2 separate regions of the Homo sapiens genome follow, and region 1 is linked to region 2. Evidence: promoter capture Hi-C in 16 types of primary human blood cells and fetal thymus (Javierre and others, 2016). All regions are on one chromosome and are shown on one strand. Each heading gives the region's core, a stretch centred on a gene start or on the middle of the fragment in contact. The rest is flanking DNA. Distances are from core to core; before and after follow the strand shown.

Region 1 (3,168 bases), core at 187-2,686, 2.9 Mb after region 2:
GATCACCGGAGATCAGGAGTTCAAGGCCAGCCTGGCCAACATGGTGAAGCCCCGTCTCTACTAAAAACACAAAAAAAGCCGGGTGTGGCGGCGGGCGCCTGTAATTCCAGCTACTTTGGAGGCTGAGGCAGGAGAACTGCTTGAACCCGGGAGGTGGAGGCTGCAGTGAGCCGAGATCGCGCCACTGCACTCCAGCCTGGCGACAGAGCAAGACTCCGTCTCAAACAAACAAACAAAATCCCACAAAAATTAGCTGGCGTGCTGGCGCAGGCCTGTAATCCTAGCTACACGGGAGAATGAGGCAGGAGAATCGCTTGAACCCGGAAGGCGGAGACTGCAGTGAGCCGAGTTCGCGCCCTTGCACTCCAGCCTGGGCGACAGAGAGAGACTCCGTCTCAAAACAAAAACAAAAACAAAAACAAAAGCAAAAAACCAAACAAAAAAATCAGCGCTCGGGCCCCCTCCCATGGCCAGCTCTTGGGGCGGGGGACTGGTAAGGGAGGTTTACCCCAGCTGGTTCTAACGTGCAGCCGCGCTGAGAGCGCAGCGGGCGGTGTGGGGCGAGGGGCCCCAGGAGGAAAAAGAAGCCTGCCCCGGGAGGATGCCGGTCCCCGCACGGTCCCACTCAATGGACCCACTCCAGCCGCGCGCTCTGCCAGGGCCTGCGGCCAGGGTACCAGGCCCTCGGCACCTTCCACGTCCAGCGTGGGTCCTCACGGGCAGGTGCGTCTTGGCATCGGGAGGAGGGAGACTGGGGCACTGGAGTCTGCAGCGCCGCCTGGGGCCGGGGCTGGAGCCGAGCGCACGCCCAGAGCTCCGCGCTTCCGACTGCAGCCAGAGCCCGCCGACCCCCGCCCCACTTTAAAAACTTGGACTCGGGCGCCACGTGTTCACTTCCCCCACTGTGCTTTAGTTGAAAAGGGTTTTGTGACTTTTCCACTCGATTGCCGCCAAGCGGGCTATTACGCCGCTTCTGACCCCACCGTGGAGACGCGGGGACTAGAGTGACCATGCCTTCTTCGGAGCGAGCTGTCTCCATCATCCGCTAACGCGCCACCTTTAAAAAACAGGCACAACGCGCAAGCGACAAAGTCAGAGGCAGAGAGCGGCGGAGCACATGATAGAAAAGGTCGAGAGGCACATTCAGCGCCAGGTGGGTGGCTTTTCTCTCCCGCTAGGAGAGCCCAGGGCACCCCATGCTCTCCCTGTGCACCCGCGGCAGTTCGGCACCCCGATCTCACTCTTGCTCCCGCCCCCACAGCGCCTCCCTCGGCGGCGGGGGAAACGGATTAAGTCGTCCGTGTACCCTGGGGACGCACGAGGGAAAGCCCCGGTCCCCCCTCCCGCAACGTCACTCCTCCACCGCGCCACGGCCCGGCCCCGCCCTCGCCGTGAGCTCCGGGGGCACCTGCCGGAGGCTGGGTGCCGGGAGACCGGAAATGCGTGGCTCCGGGCCGGGGCCGCCCGCCCCCGCGTCGCGGGCTCTTTAAGGCCGGCGGTTTTCGCAGCCAGCCCGGGGCGGGGAAAGCGGAGCGCGCGCTCCACGCGGGACCGCCTCCCGGGCCGTAAGTACCGGCGTGGCGGCGCCTCAGCCCGGCCTGGGCGAGCCCTGGGTGCTCCGCCGGGCAGCTCACGGCGCCCCGTATGGCCTGGGGATCCTAAGAGGCCCTGTGACCCCCCTCGCCTGGTCTCCCTCTCACCCCTGGAGGGTTGCCGCAGCTCCGGGGCCCCCGGGCAGGAAGGGCGCACTGGTCGTCCCGGGAGAGGGGTGAGTGGGGGGCAGCTATAGGGGGAGTTCGGGGAGGCCTCCGAGTCCCCGCTGTCCCCGCGAGCCGCTTGGAGGCCCCCAGTGTCGCTCACTTCCAGGGTCGGGGAGACGGAACTGCGGCGACCATGTATTTCTGGTTTATCAAACCGCTAACACCCAGTCTAAGGGCAGGTTCTGTCCCATTGTTATCACTATCGAAGCAGCCGATGGAGGAGGGGAGGTGGGTAGCGAAACCGTAGCGAAAGAACCCGGGCCGCCCGGCTGGCTGCAGCTGCAGTCCGGGCGCCCGGGTCTGGGTTGGAAGCGCTGCTTTCCGCGCTGCTCTGGGGCCCTGGGCGATCACCGCCGCTTCCGCCGCTTGTGTAGTTCTGAATTCACGGAGTGGTAGCAGTGCAGTGTATAGGGTATTCTGCGGAAGTTGGAATGTTCTGGGCTTTTTTTTTCTTCTTCCCCAAACACATCCGTTGACACAAATTCCGAGCCAAATCTCACTCAGATTCGGAAGAGCCATGCAAAAGAAATTGGACAAAGGCTTCCTCCACCTGTTTCTTTTTTTCTTTTGAACTTGTAAACGACCTTAAAAGCATTTGGAGTTAGTTAAGAACAGATAATGTATCTTTTGGCCAGAGCGTCACCCAGGATTCTTTTGCACGGCAGGTCTGAGCAGAGGGCGGGGTGCAGGCGGAATGGCCCTCGTGCCCTATGAGGAGACCACGGAATTTGGGTTGCAGAAATTCCACAAGCCTCTTGCAACTTTTTCCTTTGCAAACCACACGATCCAGATCCGGCAGGACTGGAGACACCTGGGAGTCGCAGCGGTGGTTTGGGATGCGGTAAGTAAGCCCTGGGGGACCTCTGAAAACGTTCACACTTGCAAGACTGGCTTTTATTTTTTATTTTTTTTAGAACAGCTTTATTGAGATATAATTCACATAGCATACACTTTACCTATTTAAAGTGCACAATTCAGTGCGGTTTTAAAAATACAGTATATTCACAGAGTAGTGCAACTATTACCGCTTCAATTTTAAAAGTTTTACTATCACTGCCACTCTCAAACCCGTATCCCTTAGTCACTCCTCTTGTCCCTCCACATAGATTACATTTTAAAGGTGTAAATGAAAGCTGAGGAAAGTTAATGACTTGTCGGAGAGGATAGGAAGGAAAGCCCCCAACTGCTTTGGACACGAGTTAGTCTTTTTTTCTTTTGAGACATAGTCTCGTTCTGTTGCCCAGGCTGGAGTGCAGTGGTGCGATCCTGGCTCAATGCAGCCTCCGCTTCCTGGGTTCAAGTGATTCTCCCACCTCAGCCTCTGGAGTAACTGGGGCTACAGGTGCACGCCACCACACCTGGTTAATTTTTGTATTTTTTGGTAGAGATGGGGTTTCGACATGTTGGC
Region 2 (3,375 bases), core at 215-2,714:
GTGAACAATAGATACTGTTAGAGGGAATATAAACTAGTCCAGCAGTTTTGGAAAGCAATCTAACAACATTGGGGAAATTAAGTACAGAATCTCATATGATCCAGCAATTGACTGCTGGGTGTATGTCTCAGGGATACTCACACAGATTCATAAAAGCACATGTTCCAAGAATATTATTTGTAGTATGGAAGTTAGAAACAATGTCCATCATTAGGGGAAAGGATTAGTAAAATAAGATAGAGGCATACTATGAAAATATACAATTACCATCCTGCCTTGCTTAACAACAGTAATATTTAATTGCTTAAAGACTGTGAGTGGGATAAATGGATAGCCTTTAATCATTAAAGAAAAAATAATTGATAAAATGTCTCTCGTTTTCCTTTTCTCTCTTGTGAGTTGCTCCTTCAAACACCCATCTTTTAAAACATGAGAGATATCCAGCTTAAGACTCACCATGGGCCTCGGCTAAATCTTCATGAATTTGATGAGGTTAAGAAAGCAACTACATTTCCTAAGAAAGCAACTATTTTAAAAGAGCAAACCTGGGTGTGGGGAGGGATTAGGAGTAGAGTTTGGGATGGCAGCCTCAGAAGGACAAACTTAGGCCAAGGAGGGAGGGAGTTGGGGTGGAGACTGAGCTTCTCCAGTTGGAGGTCTGGAGCTAGGACTCTTCATTGAAACCGGAGAGAAGGAAAAGGAGAGAGTGAGGCTGACTTTTTAACTGAACTCCAAAATTCTCTGAGCAATAGAATGGGCCTAATATGTACCAGGTGGGATTTAATTTTAAATGAAAGAAAAATGTTTCAGATAGCAGGGACTGTTAAAACATTGAAATTGAATGTTGTGGATCTCCTGCTGTGTTGGTTTTCAGTATTTTTTAGAGCTTTGTTATCCAGTATTATAGTCCAATTTAGGCTAAGGAACAGAATAAATTTCCTAAGAGCTGTAATTTGTGTTTTCATGTGCTTTCCCCAAAGTATTATCAACTGCTATTTGATATCCTGTCCTTTGGGCATATTTTTGTTGTTGTTGTTGTTAATGATGGTGGTGCTTTTTTGTTTGTTTGTTTTAAGAAATGAAAAGAAAAGATTGGCAAGTCCCTGGAGAGACATTATCCCCCCACCCCCCGCCAAATTTTATCTATTGCGAACAGCAGAAATACCAGCATGTTCAGATCTAAAAGCAGTCTGTTTCTTCTCCAGGTTAAAAAAATATATACTTCTTATGACTCTGGACTTAAATTTGACTTTTTAAAAATAAGAAAAATTAAAGAAGGGTAGGAAATATTGGTCACATCTCCGCGTGATTCTAGGTCCTCACTTCTGCTACCCAGTAATTAAAATACCCTGCGTTATCCTTTAGAAATTACACGCCTGTGTCTTTAACAAACTGTAAGAGAGAAGGGGGCGGGTCTCGGGAACGGCGAAGGCTCTGATTGGCCCTCCTGGCAGGAACTGGGCGGTAAAATAGCCCTTCTGTTACTGTCCGGGGCTGCGGGGTGAGAGGCCAGGGCCGAGAAGGGCTTCAGGACGCGGGAGGCGCACTTGCTTCAAGTCGCGGGCGTGGGAACGGGGTTGCAAAACGGGGCCTCTTTGTCCGGGTGGGTTAAGGGCCCTGGCAGCTTTTTCGCGAAGGCGCCATGTCCTAGCAGTTGGGCCGCAGTGGGCCCGAGGTCCACTCGGACCGCCGAGACGGCTCGATGGCCCTGGAGCTGGAGGAAGGGGGATACCTGGGCGCCGCCGCCGCCCTCGCAACTCGGCCGAGGCCCCTATCTCAACCTAGTTTCTGTTTTTCCCCTGTTCTGCAGGCTTGCTTCCGGCGTCATGGCTCAAAGGGCCTTCCCGAATCCTTATGCTGATTATAACAAATCCCTGGCCGAAGGCTACTTTGATGCTGCCGGGAGGGTGAGTTTAGGATATGTCTGCCTGCATCCCTGCCTCTCCCCACGGTGTTCGGAAAGGTGCTCATTTTTGCCTGAGAGAGTTGAGCATCCCCCTTTAAAAAAATACATGATTCGACGATAAATACGTAAATTATTTAAAAATACATGTTAATATATACAAATTGAGCTCTAACATAATGTTAAATGTGTCATTGTTAACATTATTAATTGAAATAAACTCAATTATTGATAGTATAAATTTTAAAAATTGGCAAATATGTAGTTTACTATGTAATTGGCATTTTTTAATGTATTTTGGTTTGCTTCTTAAAAAGAGGTGAAGAATCCTAACGGTATTCACATGTGCCGTGTTACTCCTTTGTGATTATACACAAGTGCGTTCAGGGTAATGATGAGAGCAAACGGTGGTGTATGGTAAGGACGTCTTTAAACTGTTAGTGCTTAGAGAATTTGGGGACCTAGGAAACCTGAAGTTCTTTGTACCGGTGTCACTCCACAGGGCATATCCACAGCTGGAAAACAAAAAAAAAGAAACTTGTAAATTAAACTGGTTAGCATGTCACAAATCACTGTGCAAAAGAGAACCTGGATGTAAAATACTAGGGGCCTGTGTTTTCTCATGCCTCATTGGGTGAACATAATTGTTAAGAGGGAATACAGATATTTTTAAGAATACCTACTTTTGGCTGGGTGCAGTGGCTCACACCATTAATCCCGACACTTTGGGAAATCAAGGCAGGAGGATTGCTTAAGGCCACGAGTTTGAGACCAGCCTGTGCAACACAGCAGGACCTTATCTCTACTAAAATTTTTTTAAAAATTAGCCAGGTGTGGTGGAAAGCTTGTAGTCCCAGCTACTTGGGAGGCTGAGGCGGGAGAATTGCTGGAGCCTAGGAGATTCGAGGCTGTAGTGAGCTATGATTGCACCACTGCACTCTAGCCTGGGTGACAGAGACCCTGTCTCTAAAAAATAAAAAAATAAAATTTAGTTTTGAAAATGAGTTAAGTTGGAAACAAGGCACACGCTTTAAAAATTTTACCAGTTTATTTCTTTGAAACTTGTCAGCCATACAAAAGACATTTTATGTGATATAAAGGCCTTACAGATTTCATCCCTGTCAAATTAATCTGTGGGTCTGATGGTTGTTTTTTTCCTTAAAACACTTGTCACATTATAGATTAACTTGGGTCAGTAATGCAGGTAGGAGGAATCAAAGAGATGAAGAAGAGGTGTAGGGTAGAAGGCTACCAAAATGTATATGGAGTTTGAGTCAATCTGATTATTTTAAGACTAGTATTAAGCTGCCCAAACAAAGCTTTTTATAATTATCTTCAGGTCAGATGGATTCCCTTTGGCCATTTGGGCCTGCATTCTGCTTAGCTGTGCAGATTCTCAAGCTGAAGTATGTGTCTTGTCTTGCGGGAGGAGGACTTGCTGCTTCATACTGACTTGGCAAAGAGAACAGTTG

What was found. Contacts are between HindIII fragments. The CHiCAGO score rates a contact against its expected background, and 5 or more counts as called.
Region 1: the fragment with the promoter of METTL21A here is called in contact with the fragment with the promoter of LANCL1 in region 2 in 2 of 17 cell types (non-activated CD4 T cells and activated CD4 T cells); the score reaches 6.6 in non-activated CD4 T cells.

Annotation. Positions count from the first base shown.
Region 1 is chr2:207,623,662-207,626,829 of GRCh38, reverse strand. METTL21A (methyltransferase 21A, HSPA lysine) reads left to right here and starts at 1,436. Exons shown (of 4, transcript NM_001127395.5): 1 at 1,436-1,768; 2 at 2,426-2,601. The coding sequence starts at 2,455. RefSeq lists enhancers at 1-265, 266-970 and a silencer at 1,241-1,840. The HindIII fragment of the contact is 10,824 bases long and covers 1-3,168 here.
Region 2 is chr2:210,474,848-210,478,222 of GRCh38, reverse strand. It overlaps LANCL1 (LanC like glutathione S-transferase 1), which reads left to right and starts at 1,464. Exons shown (of 10, transcript NM_006055.3): 1 at 1,464-1,603; 2 at 1,811-1,907. The coding sequence starts at 1,827. It also overlaps a transcript of CPS1 not described here. The HindIII fragment of the contact is 5,337 bases long and covers 1-2,749 here.